Linked DNA regions of Homo sapiens: regions 1 and 3 are each linked to region 2. Evidence: promoter capture Hi-C in human tissues and cell types (Jung and others, 2019). All regions are on one chromosome and are shown on one strand. The core of a region is centred on a gene start or on the middle of the fragment in contact, and the rest is flanking DNA. Distances in the headings are between cores, read along the strand shown.

Region 1 (3,055 bases), core at 16-2,515, 560 kb before region 2:
TGCTGGGATTACAGGCATAAGCCACCACGCCCGGGCAATAATGTGGCTTTTCTATAATGACTGATTGAAATTTCATGTTTCTTTGGACTTCAGGAAGCTTGGGGTCAAATTTACAACCCAGTTATAATTGTTCATGCTGTACCTTTTTGTTTGATTGGAGTTTTAGAATGCATTTGTCATATTGTGTGTGTTTTTGCAAAAGTGTGCCTCCAATTCTCTTTTAAGAGTGATAAGATATAAAGCAGTAAACATTTTCAAAACACATGTCCTGTTCCAGGCACTGTGTTAGACACTGCAGATGTAAATAAAAACTTGATTAACAAATCATAGAAAAGAATATTGAAGCTTAATAAAAATTGGTAAAATTTCTCCATTCCCTAAAGTTATGTCAGTTCAAAGAGATAATATGGCAGATAGATGCAACCATAAATTTTCATTGGATGTTGAAGTAGAAAGGACTAAAGAGGGTATTTAATACAGTGTTTCCCAGATATGTTACATAAGGCACTATTGCAGAAGATAGTAGTCATTTTGGGTGACAGAGCAAGACTCTGTCTCAAAAAAAAAAAAAAAGAGAGAAAAGAAAAAAGAAAAACATGAATATAAACCCTTTCTGTGGTCAAATAATGGCAGTGCAGGCAGGGCGAAGGCTCATGCCTGTAATCCTAGCACTCTGGGAGGCTGAGGTGGGCAGATCACTTGAGGTCAGGAGTTTGAGACCAGCCTGGCCAACATGGTGCAACCCCATCTCTACTAAAAATACAAAAATTAGTCAGGTGTGGTGGTGCGTGCCTGTAGTCCCAGCTACTCAGGAAGCTGAGACAGGAGAATCTCTTGAACCCAGGAGGCGGAGGTTGCAATGAGCAGAGATTGCACCACTGCACTTCAGTCTGGGTGACAGAGCGAGACTCCATCTCAAATAATAATAATAATAATAATGGTAGTACAAAATTAATGGTAGGCAACATAGCTGGTGCCTTGGGAAAAATTAAGGAAGTGGTTTCAAACTGCATTAATTGTCATTGCCACACACTTGCAGTTTAAAAAACAAAAGGCCAGCTTTACTTGATAGGATCTTCAATAGAATAGTATAAATTATTGTTGCTAAATCTTGGCTATTGAGCATATATGTTTTTAATCCTGTTTGACTAAGTGGAAAGTATGCATAGAAAACACTTCTACTGCATGTGAGTTATGATGGTTATCTTGAGGAAAAGGATTTGTGGAGTTGAACTAACCATGTTTTTCTTGGAACACCATTTTCAGCTGAAAGAATGACCAATGAACAAACTGTTGGTATTAAGAGATGACTACTTGGCTAATTTTTTTTTTTTTTAATGAACAAATTGCTTCTGTCACTTTAAGGAACACTGATAGCATTTGTTGCCAGTGATAAAGTTTGAGCTTGCAAGTGACAATTTGAGTTTTGGAAAATTTGTATTTGCCACCATGAACTTCATAACTTTCCAATACATAAAGACTTTTCTGATGAGAATGGTGGGGATATTAATGAATGTGTTTTTGATATTACATAATGAAATGCACCAACATTTGGGAGATCTCCGTAACTCAGGGAATCAAGATAGTCCAAATGTTACAAAATTATGCCTGGGTAAAAGATCCATTCAAAGAGTAAGAAAGAACAGTGGATTTTAATGTAACAGAAAATAAAAGTTCATTGATATGGTTTCTTATTCCGTATTACAGTTAACCTTTCAGAAAGGACCACTTGTTGAGTTTTGCTGTAGTGTAAAAGAGGGATAGCCACAATTATCTGGAAGAATATTAAAATACTCTTCCTTTTCTAGATCATAGATATTGAGATGCCAGATTTTCTTTATATGCTTTAACTAATACCACATATCACAACAATGTACATGCTGAAACGGATATGACATCCTAGCTGTCTTCTATTAAGGCAGGCTCAAAAAAGATCTTCAAAAATATTTTTAAAATGCAACTCTTTTTATTAATTTTATTTTTTAAAACAAACTTAATTTTTCTAAAGTATTTATGATAAAATGTAAAGCTTTGTTATTTTAAAGTGAACTAATATTTTTAAGTTCTCTCAGTTTTAGTTTTTAAAAGAGTATCAATAGAAATAACCCATATAAACAAAAGCAAATTGGATTCTCAGAAATTTTAAGGATGAAAAGGAACCATAGGACAAAAAAATATGGGGACTGCTGTCCTAGAAGAAACCTCCTGGGGTCACATGCATCTTTATTTGGTCATATGAAAATTAAAATCAGCACCCATAGTTCCATCTCAACCAATGTTTTAAAAAAGCCATAAAAAACCTCAGTAGTGTTACAACTGCTAAAGCTAGGTACAAACATTTATGGAGAAAGGAAATCCTGAAATATTATTCTTGTATTACTTTACCAAAGATACCATGTGTTTATGTATCAAATAAAAATTCTTGGCTGGGCATGGTGGCTCACGCCTGTAATCCCAGGATTTTGGAAGGCCAAGGCAGGTGGATCACCTGAGGTCAGGAGTTTGAGACCAGCCTGGCCAACATGGCGAAACCCCGTCTCTACTAAAAATACAAAAAAATTAACTGGACGTGGTGATGGGCACCTGTAATCCCAGCTACTCAGGAGGCTGAGGAAGGAGAATTGCTTGAACCCGGGAGGCAGAGGTTGCAGTGAGCCAAGATCATGACATTGCACTCCAGCCTGGGTGACAAGAGTGAAACTCCGTCTCAAAAAAAAAAAAAAAAAAAAAAAAAAAAAGAGATACCTGGCAAGATGGCCGAATAGGAACAGCTCCAGTCTGCAGCTCCCAGTGAGATCAACGCAGAAGGCAGGTGATTTCTGCATTTCCAAATGAAGTACCTGGTTCATCTCAATGGGACTGGTTAGACAGTGAATGCAGCCCATGGAGGGCAAACAGAAGCAGGGTGGGGTGTTGCCTCACCTGGGAAGCACAAGGGGTCGGGGAACTCCCTCCCCTAGCCAAAGGAAGCCATGAGGGACTGTGCCGTGAGGGACAGTGCATTACAGCCCAGATACTACGCTTTTCCCACAGTCTTCACAACCCACAGACCAGG
Region 2 (2,949 bases), core at 1-2,500:
GTCTCGATCTCCTGACCTCGTGATCCGCCCGCCTCGGCCTCCCACATTGCTGGGATTACAGGCGTGAGCCACCGCGCCCGGCCAACTTAAGCTTATTTTCAAAACCACTCAATTTTGACATTACAAACTGGTTTTTGTTTTGTAGAAGGACATTAAGAATAAAGAGCAAAGAAACAATTATGTGCTGGGAAGGGCAGTAGGAGGGCTGGGTCCTAGTCTCCCTTTCTCTTTCGCTAAGCAGCTGTGTGGCTTTGGGCTAGTAACCTACCCTCCCACAAAAAAGGCTTCAAAAGAGAGCAAGCAGAGCTCAGTGGGCATTAAGACATGCGCAACTCCTTTCTTTTAGAGATTAGATGAGGTCGACTCAGTGGCTTGTAAAACTCAACGTGGCAGAGCTGTACAGCCAACTCATGATTCTTAGTGTCGTTTGTTTTGAGTCACACTACACCTCCTTGAACAATCATTTACTGAGTGCTTACCGTATTAGGCATTCAGCAGCAGTGTGTTTCCCATTCAGTAACCTAGTATTGATTATTGGCTACTGTCCCTCCTAGCATTTTTCACTTGACCACTTTCTAAATGGCCTTTAGATTCAGAGTTCAAGTGGAAAAAGCCTAGTGTAAGCCTGGTGTCAGGCAGTGAGTGGCGTGACCCGGGTCGGCAGCTAGTCCTACGGTGGTGATCTAAGAGGGCAGTGACGCCTTCTGACCAAGGGAGTGACTGCCAGATAATCCGGGTGTATGGAGATCCAGAGAGGGGTGAGGCTGGGTTTACGGAGACTACACCTTTGGCTTTGCAGTAACCCCACTGCTAAGGCCATGGGAGGAAACTCTTCTGTGCAGGACGCCTATGCACTTGGCTTCTGCTGCGTAGCGACCGGGTGTCCAAGGCATCCTGCCAGGTCTCCTTCTCCACTCGGGTTTAGCCTCCCCCGCGAGTCTCCAGCTACCTAGAGAGACGTTTCTAACTACGAGATGGCTGGCCTGAAAGGGACACTCCCATCACCGTTGTTGGCCTAGAGTTCCCCGCTGCGGCCTTTTTCTTTTCCCCGCCCCTGGCCTGAGTCAGCGGCCCCAAGGCCGGCGAGGTCAAGTTCCTTTGGGGCGCCAGGGAAAAGGCCATGGCAGAGGTGCTGCCACGCGAAACCTTCTGGGCAGGCACCAGCCAATCATCAAGAGACATACAGGAGCCCCAGCCAACCAGCGCCCGCCTTATTACTGGGAACCGCCCGCTCGGGCCCTTCCTCTACATCCCCGTTCCCGATTCCTGTAGTAGCGGCTGTATTGCAGCCGCCTGCCGAACTGACCCGGGTCTGGGGACTGGCCCCTCTGGCGCCGTTCGGTTTCTCTTATTGCCTTCACTGAGGATGAGTCCCTTTGTGGCTCTATGTGGACCCTGCGGAATCCACCGGCGCAGTTTCATCTAGCGACTGGTGAGGGAGGGCTTGGCGCTGCCCGACCGTGCGGTGCGGCTTCCCTTCAGCCCGGGGGCAGGGGGAGAGTATTCGCCTTCTGGAGGGTGCGGGTGGCTGCGGACGGCGGCGCGGGGGGACCGTGGGGAGGGGACTCTGTGGCCCCGAGGCTGCCGGGCTTCGCGCGAGGCGGCGCGGAGAGGGCCGAGTGGCCAGGGTCCCTACCGCCCCCCTCAGCTAATGAATGGCCTGTCCCGGCGATGCGCTACGCTCCCGTCCTGCTGGACACGCCCTCCAGCGACATTGCATTCCTAGTTGTGATAGTTATGTAGTGTCACTTTCCTTCGAGTCTTGGATTTGAAGCCATTCCTGTGGGCGCTCATGTTCCTTATCCCCTTCCTGGAGTCACAAGTTTGAGTCCACCCTGGGGATACTGACTCTGGGGAAGCAGGTCGTGAAATCTGATAAGTGGACATTGATTGCTATGTAAAAAGGAACTGATTCTTTTTGGAGGGTGGAGGGTTGAGAGAGACAGAGAAGACAGGCCCTTTGTTTTTGTAACAGGCAGAGCTGTCTGGCTCAAAGAGTTTTAGTTCAGCTGCGAATTAGGTAACATAGGCCGTCCTTGACTCCTGTTTTCCAACGTAGTTCATAAAACTTGACTGTGTTAGCCAGAGATTCATGTAGCACCTTTTAACTTATGCCTCGAAGTAGGCCATTTGAAATTTATCAGAAATACTGAAAGGATATGACTTTTATGAGTAGTAGTGTTTCAGTGCCCATAAAGTGGTGTAAATTCACAGGCTTGCCAGCCCCCTCTTGATCATTTCTCTTTTTGTATTTTGAATTCCTTAACTTTTATTTGTTTTAGAAATTGAGGCAAGGTAGATGAGGACAAAACTGGTTTCTAAAAATAATTACATTTGCAAATATTTGCAGAAGCTTTAGTCAAACCAGAGTTTACTTCAAGAAATTTTTTAGGCCGGGCGCGGTGGCTCACGCCTGTAATCCCAGCTACTGGGGAGGCTGAGAATTGCTTGAACCCGGGAGGTGGAGGTTGCAGTGAGCCGAGATCGCGCCGCTGCACTCCATCCTGGGCGACTGAGTGTGGCACCATCTCAAAAAAAAAAAAAAAAAAAAAGATGCCTGTAATCCCAGCAGTCTGGGAGGCCAAGGTGGGCGGATCACTTGAGGTCAGGAGTTCGAGGCCAACTTGGTGAAACCCCGTCTCTACCAAAAATACAAAAAAATCAGCCAGGCATGGTGATGTGTGCCTGTAATCCCAGCTACTCGGGAGGCTGAGGCAGAATCGCTTGAGTCTCCAGCTGCCCTACCAAACTGCTTTTGAATTCAATTATTTTGAATTGAATTCCATGGTACTTTTTTCTACTACACTATACTACTTGCATTGAAATTTTTCTAACTGCCTTTTGGGAGAGCAGTTTGGTAGCATAGAATAGGTGGGATCAAGAGCACTTTTCTGTCGGTATTATTTTAGGTAGGCTTTTTAAACTTTCACATGAATCTCCTCATCAGAA
Region 3 (2,792 bases), core at 118-2,617, 650 kb before region 2:
AGAATTGCTTGAACCCGGGAGGCAGAGGTTGCCGTGAGCCAAGATCAGGCCACTCTACTCCAGCCTGGGCAACAGAGCAAGACTCTCTCTCAAAAAAAAAAAGAAAAGACAAAACAGAGGATAAAAAGTTCTAAATCAATGTTGAGAAATCAGTTATTATAAATTTGTTATCTAGGGTAAAATAACATTAAAAAATGTTTAACGTGTCACACAAATGTATTAATGCATCCCAAACTTACATTTGGTCAATGATACATCAACCTGGCCATGTTTATTGTGGTTTAAGAAGATTGTTTTTAGAGATTACTCAAAGCAGAGACATCATTTTTAGACATCTTAACATCCTCTCCCTCTCTCCATTTCCAAGTGTCACTATTCAGGTGTACAGAACTAAATCAGATCTTATAACCGAGAGGAAAGGTTGTCTTTTGTTTTTTAAAATAATTATTTATACGTTGTAACTATATTCCAGAAATATAACAACCAGCAAAACCTTAAGCTGCAGCTATAGTCATATGCTCTGAGAAGCTTTAAAACTTTTACTTTGGGGAATAAAATGAAAAACATGAAATACAGAGATCTTTCTCAGTGTAGTGGAACAAAATAAAATTATCCTCTCTTAAAATAAATGGCAGTTAGGGGAAGTAATTTTTCTTGTCATGGATAAATGGTAGGGAACACAAAATCAGCGTTTGAAATATGTTAACTCACAGTCTTTTAAATATAAGGAATAAAATGCATTGTACAGTACCTGTTCCCAAGGATGATTGCAGTTTCATGTTGTCTTTAAAAATACATAATGTGCTCGGCAAATGAAACTATAAAAACCAGATGAAAAGAAGACATTAAGCCAAATTTTAAACTTTTTCTTTTTCATTGGGAAGGTCCATTTTGCATTATTTAATTTAATCAGCTTAGCCTCTTTTGTAGTTGTTCCTCATCTTGAGTTCATATTCGCAGGCATGCAAAAGAAATCTTTTGATAGTTGAGGCAATACCAAAGATTGGAAGTCTCTAAGCCTCTGTAGTTTTCTGTCATTCATCTGTAAAGTTATAGTGGGAAAAGCATGGATTAGAAATCAATTTCTTTCTAAGCCCACCATTGTCACCTAAGAGCTTTGCTATCTGAGCAAGTTTCATAAGTTTTCTGAGCTTCTGTTTCTTCATATGTAAAACAAAGATTCAAATGCCTGCTTTACTAAACCATAGGACTGTGCTGTGGATGAAAAAAATCAAAGTAGGCTTAATAAAGTGTTTTACAAATTTCATGTACATCCTGTTAGAATTCCCATTTTGTGGGTGAGGAAAGGCTGAATGGGGCTAGCTGATAATTCTTTGTTTTAGGGGCTCTCTACATTGTAGGAGAACGTCCCTGGCCTCTGTCCACTGGATGCCAGTAGCACCCCCTCCCAGTTACGTTGACAACCGAAAATGTCTCCAGATACTGCCAAACGCCCGTCAGTACACAAAATCACCTCAAGTTGAAAATCACTATTCTGTATAGCTAAAATTCTTAACCATTTTCTTTTTTTCTTCTTTTTGAGACAGACTCTCCGTCTGTCAGCCAGACTGGAGTGCAGTAGCGTGATCTCGGCTCACTGCAACCTCTACCATATGGGTTCAAGTGATTCTCATGCCTCAGCCTCCCAAGTAGCAGGGATTACAGGTACCTGCCACCATGCCTGGCTAATTTTTGTATTCTTAGTAGAGACAGGGTTTTACCATATTGGCAGGCTGTTCTCAAACTCCTAACCTCAAGCCATCTGCCTGCCTTGGCCTCGCAAAGTGCTGGGATTACAGGCCACTGTGAGCCACTGTGCCGGCCTCTTAACCATTTTCGTAATGTCATTTATCAATGTTATCCTTATGCTAAGTATTTCCTGGTTGGAATATGCCATGACATAGCAATTTTCAGAATTACAAAAGAGATAAATGGTTTTCTTCCATCGTCTTCATGTTTGAATATAAGCAGCGTCATTGTCTTCTTTGTACAGTTGTGAGCTTCCTGTCCCTGTAAACTGTCTATGTAGAAGCAGAATGTCGCCTGCCAGGGATGCTGCCCACAGTGAGCCCTAAGTCAGACTCAATGACTTCTGGTCTTCCTTCCTCTGTCTATTATAACAGGCTCTACTGGCCTCTCTTCTCATCTGGTATATTCACAGGCTTCTAATATCTCTTGTCAGCTGAGAGACAGGGGAAACACATGGATTTTCCTAATCATTATTATTAAGTTTTGAAGGGAAGGTGAGGGTTAAAGACAGAGGGAGTTGGCGGCTCTACAGAAATGCAGGTTTTATGTGCAGCACAAGACCTGCAGAGGTGGGGGACCAGTTAATGCCAGCCAGAGCCCACCGCTGCTTACAGGCTGGGGTACTTATAGGTATGGGTGGGAGGGGTCTGGGCAGTATGGCTTACCGCCCGGCAGGATATTGATAAGATGTTCCTATGATCAGGCGGTTTGGCCCTTTTTCCAGTGGGATGTCATAGGATGTTCCTTGGGCCTTTGTCCAGCAAGATATGATAGCAATGTTCCTTCAGTTGGGCCTTTGCCTGGCAGGGTATGATAAGAAAGTCAGGTGGTTGGGCAGGATGTTTCTCATGGTCCGAACCCCCATGGAACGTTTCACTTTGACCTGGGACTATGAAATGGTTGGGGGGGTGGGGGCGAGGCTTACAAAATGGTGCAGCTTGAACTAACAATGATCTCATTTGAGCTTCACAGTAAGCTCTTGAGGTTTGCATCAATTGTCCATGTTTACATTTTGTTTAGGAATCAACCTTTCCTCTTTGCTG

Evidence for each region. Contacts are between HindIII fragments. The study calls those that stand out against the background at their distance.
Region 1: a contact is called between a fragment that was not itself captured here and the fragment with the promoter of IBTK in region 2, in 2 of the 25 tissues and cell types used here (H1 embryonic stem cells and mesenchymal stem cells).
Region 3: a contact is called between a fragment that was not itself captured here and the fragment with the promoter of IBTK in region 2, in 2 of the 25 tissues and cell types used here (lymphoblastoid cells and mesendoderm cells).

The regions. Positions count from the first base shown.
Region 1 is chr6:82,809,641-82,812,695 of GRCh38, reverse strand. No RefSeq gene overlaps it. Among named protein-coding and RNA genes, the nearest start is that of UBE3D, 250 kb to the left of the region's middle. The HindIII fragment of the contact is 3,331 bases long and covers 1-2,930 here.
Region 2 is chr6:82,246,045-82,248,993 of GRCh38, reverse strand. It overlaps IBTK (inhibitor of Bruton tyrosine kinase), which reads left to right and starts at 1,250. Exons shown (of 29, transcript NM_015525.4): 1 at 1,250-1,432. RefSeq lists a silencer at 1,448-1,617. The HindIII fragment of the contact is 4,806 bases long and covers 1-2,949 here.
Region 3 is chr6:82,894,059-82,896,850 of GRCh38, reverse strand. All of the region lies in intron 9 of UBE3D (ubiquitin protein ligase E3D), which reads left to right. Among named protein-coding and RNA genes, the nearest start is that of UBE3D, 170 kb to the left of the region's middle. The HindIII fragment of the contact is 3,568 bases long and covers 1-2,792 here.